Regions from separate parts of the Homo sapiens genome. Here region 1 is linked to region 2. The links are contacts of gene promoters, found by promoter capture Hi-C in blood cells and fetal thymus (Javierre and others, 2016). All regions are on one chromosome and are shown on one strand. The core of a region is centred on a gene start or on the middle of the fragment in contact, and the rest is flanking DNA. Distances in the headings are between cores, read along the strand shown.

Region 1 (6,540 bases), core at 79-2,578, 1.6 Mb before region 2:
ATCAAAGAGCTGTTCCCCTTCTTGATGGGCACAATATTCTTAATTGATTTGAGCCCAAAATGGACAAAAGGTGTATAAACAAGACTAATAAACTAGTTTCTCTATAGTCTGTCACCCAACAGAGACTAGATCTCTATAAATATTAATCCATTCACAGAGCTTACCAAATGATTAGACCATGACACCAAATTCCCAATCATTGTTTCCACCCAGTACAGCAGACACACTGGCTGGCTGGAAGCAAAACAGAGACAAATCACAAACTTAATAGAGAAAAATATTAAAATTAGAAAAACAGAGTCACCAAAGTTCTATTGTCATTTGGCAGCCAAGAAAAAAATGTGTTTGGGCTTTAAGCAGCCCACAAGCTAGTCTGGTGAAACGTATATCTGGTTTTGTTAAGATGAATCCAATAGACAACTCATTGGAAGACCTCCAAACTTTTAAAAAGACAATTTTTTTAAAAAAGTGGATAAAATCATGCCTCTCATACACATAAAAAATGAACACACGTTAAAGATTTTATCACGAATCAATGCGGAAACGCAGGAGACGTTACAACTAGTTCAAAAGAGAAATAAAAAAATTATGTGGAATAAAGGAAGGTTGAATGTGCAAATGGAAGCAAAACTGGGTTCTTCCATAGTGGTGAAGAGAAGTCAATTGAACTTCCAGTCAGGAGAGAATTTGCACAGCTATAAACAGAAATTATTAACTGCCATCAGTTATCTACAATCTACAGAGTTGTAAAATAGCTTCCATAGAATGTGAATCAGATTTTGTATTTTCCAGACAATCCAGTTTTCTACCTGGGCACAAATGTTTTTTCCATACAAATAACATCTATTTGTAAATAACATTTTTCTGAAATAACATTTCAGAAAAGTGGATGAGTGTATATAGAGTTAAATTTGTAGTAATTACAAGAAATTAAGAAGTTCCTCTCTGACATGGTTTTTTCCCTACCATAAAACAGAACATGAGGTTTACACATCTTCTACACATTAGGGAACTGGTTGCCATGAAAGGGCTCCAAGCACCAAAATATCTCACATCAGCTTTACCAGAGTGACTTTCTCATTTCATTAAAAGTAGCCATTAAAACACAGATAGGTCATATGGGTGATATGCCAGTGATTCTCTGAATACAGTGGCATAAGTCAATCCTCTGGAAACTGTAAGAAGTTGGGTCTGGGAATCTATCACTAAGAAAGCTTGAGAAATACTGTTCTAGTATATTTTAGTTTGTGGAGTTAGTTAGCAGAGCCCTGAAGAAATAAAACCCAGACTGATGAGTCTTTAAATATCCTTACAATTGTAAGTGGGACATTTAGGAGGAGTCTTGGGGAGCCAGTGGGTGCATTATGAGGGAAGGAAGTATGGCCATAAAAGGAAGCCAGTAGCAAAGAAAGGGGCCTGGTGGGGAACTCGAAACAAGCTTCACCTGATGTAGTGTGTCTGATGGAAAAGAAAGGAGAAGAGAGGAAAGAAAGAAGGGTGCTGACAAGCCCAAAGAAGATCTTATAAAGGCTGAGAGCTCACAGGAGGCGTGGAGAGAAAGAGAGAGGCAGAGGGAGAATGCAGAAAGATATCTCACAGACACCCCGGCCGTACTCAGGACAATTAAATCAGAATCTCTTTCCAGGCACAGTGGTGTGCACCTGTAAACCCAGCTACTTGAGAGGCTGAGGCAGAAGGATCATTTGAACCCAGGAGTTCCAGATCAGCCTAAGCAACATAGTGAAGACCCTGTCTAAAAACAACAATAACAAAGTCAGAATCTCCAGGGGAGGACTCAGTCACTCGTATTTTTAAAAGCTCTTGTGATTGCGACCTGCAGCCCAGGTTGATAACCTTTGTTTCCCACCTGGAGTTCACCAATTTCACACCAGGTGACGCCGGTCATTGATGCTGTGGTTCTAAATGACTCATCTGTTCCTTGCTAAAGAGGATGTGAGGATTTAGGATGAGTTTCTTCTTCTTTTTAATTAGAGCAAAATTCCTGAAGAGGAAATGACCTGTGGTTTTTGACTTTCAATTGTGTCACATCACCAAATGTGCCCTTTCTGTGAGTAAAAAGAACAAGGTCAGCTTTCCACTTAGTGTGTGCTGTCTTGTTCTGCAGTCAAATGAGCAGAACTCAGAAATATAATTGTAAAATGGCAGGCTTGAGGTCTTTATCTTTTTCTTTGCAGTTTACTGCAAATAGTATGACCTAGTAATACTACAAATGGTGCAGTGAAAACAGCAATGAATTCGGCATCAGAAGATGGTAGGACCAGTGGCCAATCTTGCCCAGGGAGGTCACTACACTTATATCAGCCTCAGTTTCCTCTTCCAAAAAATAAGATACATCTCTTTGGATCTAAAATGTCATTGATTGCGAAATGCACCATAGTTTTACATGTCACAAAGGAAAGGCAGTTGTTTTATTTCAGTTAATGTAAATCGTTAAAATTATTATGTTTATTGATGAGTTCAAATGTTCCAGAATATAAAAATAAAACATTTGTCTCACTGAAAAAATCCTTTAAATAAATTTCTTAAAGCCAATTTGTTAATAATTCCTATTAAGTAAGACTCATCGTGAGGGTGGTGGGGGGAGTGCGGTGGCTCACGCCTGTAATCCCAGCACTTTGGGAAGCTGAGGCAGGTGGATCACCTGAGGTCAGGAGTTTGAGACCAGCCTGGCCAACACGGCGAAACCCCGTCTCTACTAAAAATACATAGCCGGGGCGTGGTGGCGCACGCCTGTAGTCCCAGCTAATTGGGAAGCCGAGGCAGGAGAATCACTTGAACCTGGGAGGCGGAGGTTGAAGTGAGCCGAGATCGCACCACTGCACTCCAGCCTGGTTGCCAGAGTGAGACTCCGTCTCAAAAAAAAAAAGACTCATCGTTCTCAAATGAGTCAAATCATACAAAATATTATTTAATTAAATAGCCACCTACCTCATAACTTTCCTATAAGGATGTGATAAAGAACACTATTTCCTCCTAAAAAAAAACGTGATTGGAAATTCATATATGCTTAACCACGGGTACTAACACTAGAGTTGTTTTTGTCAAAATGCAAATACGGCATCTTAAATATTTTTGAGTTTAGCAGAAGCCAATAATGTTTTAATGTTGCAAGTGTGCAGTGTGAAGACATGCTAAACTCACAAATGTTTAAGATCTCATATTTGCATTTGGCAAAAACAACTTTAATCTAGCCTAATAAAAGTAATTTGTTAGAACGAGTAACCAAACAACTATGGAAAGCACCTGCTCATGGGATCAAATGATCCAGAGACTCAAATGACATCAACACTCTTTCCTAATTTCTTTCCCTGATCCTATTATTCTCTCAATTCTCTTCCATGGGATACAGAACTTGGCCACCACAGGCCAGGGGTTAAATCCTTATAACTCACAAGTAAACTTATAACTCACAAACTCACAATGTTTGTTTATAAACATTGGTTAATGGGTACAAAGATACAATTAAAGAAGAGGGAAAAAATTCTGATGCTCTATTGCACGGTAGGGTGAAAATGGTTAACAGTAAAATTTTGTATACCACAAAATAGAAGAGAGGCTACTGAATGTTCTCACCACAGAGAAAGGATAAATGCATGAGGTGGTGGATACACTACCTTGATTGGATCGTTATACAACATAGATATGTATCGAAACATCAAATTGCACCCCATAAATATGTACAATTACAACGTGTCCTCAAAACAAAACAAAAAGCAAGCAAACCACCAGACCAGACCTTCTACTTGGCTTGTTCATGGGTGTATCCTAAAATCATTAAAGGAAAGATTTCTGGGAGACTTTATAGTGTGAGGGGTCAGACGGCTGACCGCACCTGCACCCACAGGTCAGGGGTAGGCATCACTCACACGGGGACAGCCAGCGGATACACTACTCTTGCTGAGGTGCAGTAAGCACACACCCTACCACTGTGTTTGAAGCCGTGCGGGCGTCAAAACAAAACACAACACAACCAGAATCTAATGAGTCCATTACCCCTAACCATAAATTTTCAAGAAACATGGAGGCTAGAGAAACAAGTTAAACGACACCATCAGTAAGTAATGGGCCAAATCCCAAGATCTGCGACAATCCACAGGGCAAATATCCCTCAGTATACGAATGACGTGAAGAAAAACGAGGCGAGGGCAATTAGAGGACAATAGACACCCAGGGTCGTAGCAACCGAATACAACCTGGGACCTTGTTTGGATCTCTATGACAATTCGACTGTAATAAGGAATTTCTGAAATAAGGAAATTTGAAAGTAGACTGAATATTAGGTGCCATGAAGGAATTACCTTAACTTTTCTAGGTGTGATAATGGTCGGTTAATTACTTTTTTAAAAAAAATTACTCATCAGAGGAAGTTAATGGTGAAACGACCTGTTCTAAAGGTGCGCGCCGACCCCGGGCCGGCCCTCTCGGTGCCGCAGCAGCCTCGTTATCGGGGCGTCTCCAGCTCGCCTGGGCGCTGGACCCCGCCGCGCGCTCAGAGGCGGCCGCAGCATTGGCAGCTCCCGGCATGCTCCGCGGGCTGAGCTCCGCGGCACGAGAACTCAAAGCCCCCGGCCTGGGTCCTACGCGGGGCCCTTTACCCAGGGTGCCCCGGGCGCTCATTTGCATGTCCCACCCAACAGGTAAACCTGACAGGTCATCGCGGCCAGGTACGACCTGGCGGTCAGAGCACCAAACATACGAGCCTTGTGATGAGTTCCGTTGCATGAAATTCTCCCAAAGGCTCCAAGATGGACAGGAAAGGGCGCGGTTCGGTCACCGTAAGTAGAATAGGTGAAAGACTCCCGTGCCTTATAAGGCCTGTGGGTGACTTCTTCTCAACGTGCTCGCTTCGGCAGCACATATACTAAAATTGGAACGATACAGAGAAGATTAGCATGGCCCCTGCGCAAGGATGACACGCAAATTCGTGAAGCGTTCCATATTTTGCGCAGTCTGTCAAGATCATTTCAGTATCTGCTAATTAGTACTAAGGAAACAGTGTGAATCTAAGCGAAAACGTGTGGCACCCAATGACGAAACAGTGGTTTTCATTACAAAAAATTTGTGAAATCTATGAAGTGGGAACGAAGCAGAGTCACCCGAGGAATGTTGTGTGCGAATAGATCGTTAATACGCATTTTGGAAATGGAAAAAGGTCACCTTGTGCCTTCTTCATTGAACTTTTCATTCTGAAATAGACTTACGGTCTTGTCTCACCAAACAACACAAACTCCAGAGCCCCAGCTTGTTTGGCTTTTGTTCAGTAGAAGACCAACTGGCATATGAATTGTTCAATAAATCCTTACTAAATCTTTCCTAACCTAATAAATCTCTACTAAAGGAAGGAAACATTAGCGCTCATTTCTTGCGCCTACTTTGTGCCATTCTCCATCATCTTAGACCTGAGTGCTTACACCCTTTCTCTTAGACTGCGAGCTGCACAAAGGAAAGGAATGTTACTAAGGGCTGGTATTATTGGAAATCAATGTTGGCCTTTGCCTATAGATTCAAGAGCTCCAGGACCCATGTGAATACTGGCCACAAGTAGCAAGCCCATCTGGATCTGTTTTCACGAGTCTTCTGTTTTCATGTATCCTCTAAGAAGTACTTAGAAAGGGCCGATTTACATAAATCGGACAGATTCTGTGATGGGAAATTTGATTAGGAGGAATGTTCATTGCCCAGCCTGAAAGCATATTTTAATCAATGAAAACAAGTATTTGGACGCAGATACGAGGATCACCTAGGTAACTTAATAGTAACGTAACTAGGCGCCTCGAAGATGGAGGCTGTCGAGGAAGTGTGCCCACTGTGCGACAGGACTGGTGGGAGGCCCGGACAGCATCGTAGGTGTCTACTGGGCCAAGCTCGCGAGCAGGAAAATGCAGGCCCCGAGAGATCTTGAACAACCTCTAGGAACACCACCGTATCTTGCCCAACGACCTTCGTTGAACCGCGCAAAATATGGAACGCTTCACGAATTTGCGTGTCATCCTTGCGCAGGGGCCATGCTAATCTTCTCTGTATCGTTCCAATTTTAGTATATGTGCTGCCGAAGCGAGCACGCAAATAAGTCCGTCCCCAGGTCTTATAAGGCACGGGAGTTTCTCATTTGTTTTCCTTACGGTAACCTAATCGAGCGCTTTCCTGTCCATCTTGGAGCCTTTAGGAGAATTTCATGTAACGGAACTCATCACAAGGCTCGTAAGATTGGTGCTCTGACCGCCAGGCCGTATCTGGCCGCGACCGATCTGTCAGGTTTACCTGTTGGGTGGGACATGCAAATGAGCGCCCGGGGCACCCTGGGTAAGGGACCCCGCGTGGGACCCAGGCCCCGGGGCTTTGATTTCTCGTGCCGCGGACTTCAGTCCGCAGAGCATGCCGGGAGTCTGGCAGTCCGTGCGGCAGCAGTGGAGCGCAGAGGACAGGGCCGGCCTGGAGCGCTTGGCGTCTCCCCGAAGTCTCTCTGAGAGCTGGGGAGGCGGTTGGCCCGCTAGGTCACTAGGTCGGGCAGGGGTCTTC
Region 2 (6,773 bases), core at 839-3,338:
TCTTAGCCTGTTTTCTTATTTGAAGATAGTAACTACCTCAGCGATATTGTAAAGATTAATGAGAGAATGTATGTGATGCGGTTTTTACAGTTTAGTAACTCAATGTAATTGGAGACTTATGTATCATTTGCTATGTGGCACACACTATTTTAAGGTCTTTGTATATATTAACTCATTCAATCCTCACAATAATCCTACAAAGTAGGTAACCTCATCATACGGTAGAGGGAAATGAAGCAGAGAGGTTAAACAGCTTGCCCAGGGTCACCTAGCTATCAAGTGGTGGAGATGGGCTTCAAACCAAGGCAATCTGGCCCCAGTTCCATGTCTTTAATCAACACATTATAATGCCTTTCTAGGAAAGATCAAATCAGTGTTTTGAAAACTCACAGTATTTTCTAACCTTTCAGTTAAATATGCAGACTGTTCAATGCCATCCTCCAGACCTACTGATTCAGAATCTGAGATCTGAAGTGCAGGAATCAGCATTGTTGAACAAATCCTTCAAGGTAGTGTATACACAATAAATTCTGAAACTCACTGATTTAAGAAAGAGCAAAAATCCAATGAAAATAATTCAGGTAGAAAAAAATAAAGAGATTAGGATATAGCGATCAATTTTTAAAAATTACCATTTGTTGACAGCACATATGAAATGAGCAGAAAGGCTTAGAGAAGTATAGCCAATGTCTCTGTTACAAAGACACTATATGAAAAATGCTCATATTTTAACTATCCTAAACACCGAGTATTTAAGTCTATTCTTCCTGGCTAACACTTAAAAGTTCAATAGCAGGAAGAATGGGGGTGCTGGAATAGCCAGCACTGGATGAAGGAATGTTTTTATTCTGATTATTATGAAGTCCTACTTTTAAAAATATATTTATACATTTAAATGGTACAATATCCTGGTGTTAAAACCTTAAAAGGAACTTAAAATATCTTTTCGTATTAAGCTACACAAAACTGACGATTTTTAATAAAGATGTAAAACTTGTACACATTTAAAGTTCCCATTTATAGTTTACATTTATGGCACACTTTTAAACCATTCCAGAAGGCATGACTTTACTACTGGGTTAGACAGAGTTCCATATTTCAGATAGTTCATCATTAAAAATTAAAAAAAAAAAAGCCCAAAACAATAAAACCCAAAGAAACAGATGCTCAAAGCATTAGTGGATTACTTCCAAAAAGACTCCATAATAACCCAGTTGGCCAATGAATGAGGGAGGCGAAAAGGCAGGGCGGTGGAACTAAACCTTATCCCTATTGTTTGCAAACTAAGACCCTAGTTAATCACCACCGCTGTTACCACAGCCGGTTTAAATAGGAGTCTCGGATTTTTGCGGTACATGAAAAATGTCAACCGTGAAAGAAAAATATCCGGGTTTTAAATACAAAGGACACTCGAATTTCAGTTTAAATCCCACTCAGGCATTTCAAAGACTGTCACTTCCCTGCAGTCCAGAGTTAATCAAGGTTGCCCGGGTATCTCTCTCAGGAGGAACGCGGAGCCACGTAGAGCATCTTTTCATTCTAAACCCGCCCCAACCTTCCATCTTTCATTAAAAGAGATTTGTTTAAACGTGGCAACGCCTTCACAGTGAGATTTAACTACTGTTAAAATTTCAGCATTCGAGCCGAATTGGTGGAAATAATAAACTACGGGTTTAAAAAAAGCCACGGAGGATGCGTATAAACAAGGTTTACTCGCGGGGGACCGGCAGGGCCTCCGAATCCTCAACACTGAGAGCTGGCTGGCGTGCGCAACCGTCGAGAGCGCTGGTCCAGCAAACGCCCCCAGTGCCCCGAATTCCCTTAGTCTCCAGGCCGGGCCCCAGCACCAGACGTCCCCAAAAGCACTGCGAGGCCCCGGCTGCGACGTCCGGCCTCCTGACACCCTCTCCCACCCCACGGTCCTGCTTCTCTCTCTGGAACGTTCTGCGTCTTCCCGTTCCCCATTTACTCACCAAGGAGAGCTGGGCAGAAGTTCCAGAGCCTCAGTGCCACTTTTCCCGGCCCGCTGTACGTCGGGGCACGCCGACCGCGAGCAGCCACATTCAACGGCCCACAGGATTCAAATTCGTCCACTTCCGCTCGCAAACCCGGAAAGAGCGGTCGGCCCCGCCCTCGAGGGGTGGGACCCGCGGAGGCGCTGGCTGTGGGGAAGGGCCCGTGTGCTCCCGCCCTTCTGGCGCTCCTGCGCTGCTGCTCGGTGCTAACCTGGCTGTGTCGCCTTCGCTTGTTTGTTTTGTCGGGTCTCTCTCCCTATTTAGGAGCTCAGAAAAACTCCGGGCGCGGGGTCATTGTTTCCGCCTATTTGCTCTTGAGGGGATCCTCTTTTTTCCAAAATGGACAGAGATGTGCTGAAGTTTCGTCACCTTCGAGGAATGGGGCGAATGAAAGCACGAACGGAGGCAGGAGGGTTTTATCTTTCCCTTCATCCTCGAGGAAACAGCAGCAGCAGCAAGAAGGAAAAAAACAAACCCTCCAAGTACTTAGTGCAGCCTTTCCTGGGCCTCTCAGTCCTATCCCGGCACAGTCAGGGCTTTTAATTTATTTCTGTCCTGGGTTTAGGGAAAACAAAAAGCCAAGTTCACCCGTATTCAGCCAAAAGTTGAAAATAAGTGGTCGGACCAATTCCTGGTCTCAAATAAACTATTTGATGGTGTTAGAAGGCAATAAATTTTATTTCCCCCCTCAGATAAGGGCTCACTTTACGAGATTATTAAGTATTGTCCCGTGAGATTATTGAAACAACAGTATCTTTTCCTTTATCGAGGACCACAGTATGTCTTTGATCCAAAACGTCTTAAGCTTCTGAAGAGACATCTGGGAGCTTCCAGAAACTAAAGGAAGGACTGGAAATGCTAGGGGGTGAGGGGCGCTAAATAACTCTGACCTTTATGGCTGTGATTGATGTTGCCACCAGATCATCCTCACATCTAATAACATTGAATTACCTAAACGGATCAGTACAAACCAAACCATGACAGCATACCTTTAGCCTTTGTCAAAAATACAGTTTGAGGGCCGGGCGCGGTGGCTCACGCCTGTAATCCCAGCACTTTGGTAGGCCGAGGCGGGTGGATCACGAGGTCAGGAGATCGAGACCATCCTGGCTAACATGGTGAAACCCCGTCTCTACTAAATGTACAAAAAATTAGCTGGGCGTGATGGCAGGCGCCTGTAGTCCCAGCTACTCGGGAGGCTGAGGCAGGAGAATGGTGTGAACCCGGGAGACGGAGCTTGCAGTGAGCAGAAATTGCGCCACTGCACTCCAGCCTGGGCGACAGAGCGAGGCTCTGTCTCAAAAAAAAAAAAAAAAAAAAAAAAAAAATACAGTTTGAAAGGTTTACTAGATTTCTGAGAACCTATGCTACAGGTAATCTGACACAGGGGGTGTGTAAAGCTATTAACTGATGTACTGTTTTTAACAGTGGAAGATAGAAAATAATCTGTGTCTACAAATAAGGAAGGGGTTAAATACATGTAAGTTATGATACTTTAGCATCTGATATACTGACGCTGCGGGCACTAAAAGTAATGAAGTAGATCAGCGGGTACTGAAATGAAATACTGAAAAAGTTTAAGAAGGACTGTAGTATCCTTGTTTGAAAGTATGTGTGTGTATATGGTATACAAAGTTTTGGGATGGATACCTAAGCTGTAAACATCTCTGGGAGCGGGCTGGTAAATAAGAGTAGGAAGAGATGGAGAACTTTTACCTTTCACTTTATCACCAGTTGAATTTTTAAGATAATAAACTTTTTTTTTAATTTTGCAATTTTGTTCTTTAAGGAAGATTGCTAGAAATTGAATACATTCTAGATACAAAATCAGGTTTAATGAGCGTATAAATTTCTAATGTTTGGATAGTCTATGTCCATTCATTCATTCAACAGTTCTTTCTACAATTACATATAATGATTTGACCACACATTTTGTCATTCATGATATAGTGTATTATTTTATGTTTACATATCTAATATGACCCCGTTAAATATATTGCTCCTTGAAGTTTCTTGAAGGCAGAAACTATGTTATATATTTTCCTATGTCTTTCATAATTCTTGGCACCTTCCCACCATTCTTATCCTTCACAGGAATTAAATTCTCAAGTTGACCTGTATACAAAAGTTAAAAATGCCCTGGAAAAGCCACCCAAAAGATTATATATATATATATGATTTTCTTTATACAACTCTATGAGCAAGGTTTTGTGTTTTTTTTTTTTTTTTTCAGTTTGTCCCCTGAGTTCTCCTTGGTCAGTTCTTCTCTACAACCCTTAATTAATTCTTCAATTTCTTCCGCTAAAATGTTGTCAAAGTCATTATCACCCCGCAGCCTGGCCATCACTTGGAATAATGAGATTCAGTTCTCATCAGTGGTGGAGAGCCCTGTAAAGTCATTCACATTTTTTTCCATAAGATTAGCCAGGCTTAATTGTATTAATTGTCTAGGGTTGGTGTTCACTGAATGGACTATCTGGTTATCTGTACTAATTAAAATGTTGTTCTTTTTTTTTCACCCAGAGTGAGTATAGGTGATTTTGAATACAAACAATATTCAAGTAATGTTACAGCATTTTGTGAACAAAAAAGATCTTCAATAAATACCCACTGACTAAATCAAAGAGCCTGAGTACATACAACTTAAGGACTTCTTTGAGACGGAGTCTCTCTCTGTCGCCCAGGCTGGAATGCAGTGGCGTGATCTCTGCTCACTGCAAGCTCCGCCTCCTGAGTTTATGCCATTCTCCTGCCTCAGCCTCCCAAAGTGCTGGGATTACAGGCGTGAGCCACCGCGCCCGGCCACAATTTAAGGACTTTTGAAAGAAAATATTCATTGCAGGACGTACTTAAATCTAACAAACCTGGCCATCAGACCAGGCATTCTGAGAGCTTATAAACATTTTAAATTGAGTGAAATTGATATAAGTATTCCACTTAATACATGCTGCAAAAAATGAAGAATAAAATTAAGAATTTTATTCAGTCTCTGATAATCCCTCAGTAATGTGAACTAGCTGAGAACTGAATTCTTAGAAAATTTTAGTCATAGCTAATGTAACCTCTCTTTCCTGCTTTCCTCTTCCTATTCAATCCACATACAGCAGAAAACAAAACAAAAACACTCCTGGGACCAAGGGTCATCAATTTTACATGGAAGAAACAACATAAACTGCTTTGGCAGAAGAATTCCTATAATCTACTCTAAAAGGTTTTTACCACAACCAACATGAGTAACAGAAATGATAAAATGCGTAGAAATAAATTTTAAAGAAAATTCACAAAATCAAATTAGAATTCAATTTAATTTAAAATAATTTTTAAATTTTAAATACAGTTTTAAAGAAATTTTCTTTAAAGAAAGATATAGAACCTGCTACTTTAAAATATAATTTGAGAACATAAGTGATTTCAATGTTCATATAGGAAAATTAATATGTAAGAATTGTTAAGACATATTAGAAAAAGAAAACAGAGGTCAGGAGTAGACAATTTGTCTTACTAGAGAGTAAAAACTTACCACAAAGCTGCTACAAAGAGTAGCCAAAAAAAAAAATCAGACAAAAAATATAGTATTAGCACAAAAAAGAAAAAGAGAATCCAGAAAAATGAAACTATATAGAGAATATTAATATATTATAAAGGTGATATTTCCTTTTCAGGAAAAGGATGGGTTCATTCATAAATTAACAAGAACTGGAAATAACTGGCCAGCTATATGGAAGATATAAAGTTAGGCCTGTACCTTTTATCATATACCAAAATAAATTCTAGAAACATTAAAGATTGAAATTTTAAAAAATAAAACAAAAGTATATTGGGGAGAAGTTTAGAACGGTAACTGTGACTTTAGGGTAGAAGAGACTTCTCAAACAAGGCAGGGCCAGGTGCAGTAGCTCTTGCCTGTAATCCTCGCACTTTGAGAAAGCCAAGGCGGGAAGAGCACTTCAAGCCAGGAGTTTGAGACCAGCCTGGGCAACATAGTGAGACTGCTGGCTCTACGAAAAACAATTTTTTAAAAAATTTAGCTGGGTGTGGTGGTGTGCACCTGTAGTCCCAGCTACTCAGGAGGCTGAGGTGGGAGGATCCCTTGAGCCCAAGAGTTGGAGGTTGCAGTGAGCTGTTGCACCACTGCACTCCAGCCTGGGTGACAGAGCAAGACCGGAATCCTAGAAACCATAAAATAAAAGATGAGTATGTTTCATTATGTTAAAGTTTAAAATATTTGAACAGCAAAAGTCACCATGACACATTGAAAGATAAATGAGGGACAATGATAAAATATTTATAAAACATAGGACACTAGGTTAACAATTCTAATGTAAAAACTTTTATAATTTTTTTCAAAAAGCAATAAAAATGGGCAGAAGAAATGAACAAGTAATTCATTGAAAAGGAAATGAAAGAGGACAAGACACAGAAAATACTCAACTGTACTACCTCACTTTTGGGAATACAAATCAACCAACCAAATACCAAGTTTATTGGATTAGCAAAAATTAAAACAATTCACAATATCCCACACTGGGAGAGTGTGGTGGTAAAATGTACACTCTTTTTTTTTTTTTTTTTTTGAGACAGAGTCTTGCTCTGTCACCCAGGCTGGAGTGCAGTGGCGCGATCTTGGAGCTTGCATTTGGTATATGATAAAAGGTACAGGCCTAACTTTATATCTTCCATATAGCTGGAGTGCAGTGGCGTATCACTGCAACCTCCACCTCCCAGATTTAAGCAATTCTCCTGCCTCAGCCTCCTGAG

What was found. Contacts are between HindIII fragments. The CHiCAGO score rates a contact against its expected background, and 5 or more counts as called.
Region 1: a contact is called between a fragment that was not itself captured here and the fragment with the promoter of G2E3 in region 2, in 1 of 17 cell types (total CD8 T cells). The highest score is 8.5, in total CD8 T cells.

The regions. Positions count from the first base shown.
Region 1 is chr14:32,201,588-32,208,127 of GRCh38, reverse strand. RNU6-7 (RNA, U6 small nuclear 7) reads right to left here and starts at 6,083; the gene lies at 5,977-6,083. RNU6-8 (RNA, U6 small nuclear 8) reads left to right here and starts at 4,859; the gene lies at 4,859-4,965. RefSeq lists enhancers at 1,669-1,828, 4,144-4,688, 4,689-5,234, 6,332-6,391, 6,472-6,531 and a silencer at 4,875-5,054. The HindIII fragment of the contact is 224 bases long and covers 1,217-1,440 here.
Region 2 is chr14:30,554,473-30,561,245 of GRCh38, reverse strand. G2E3 (G2/M-phase specific E3 ubiquitin protein ligase) reads right to left here and starts at 2,088. Exons shown (of 15, transcript NM_017769.5): 1 at 1,974-2,088. It overlaps G2E3-AS1 (G2E3 antisense RNA 1), which reads left to right. Exons shown (of 4, transcript NR_151720.1): 3 at 411-509. RefSeq lists an enhancer at 2,233-2,422. The HindIII fragment of the contact is 9,808 bases long and covers 1-2,822 here.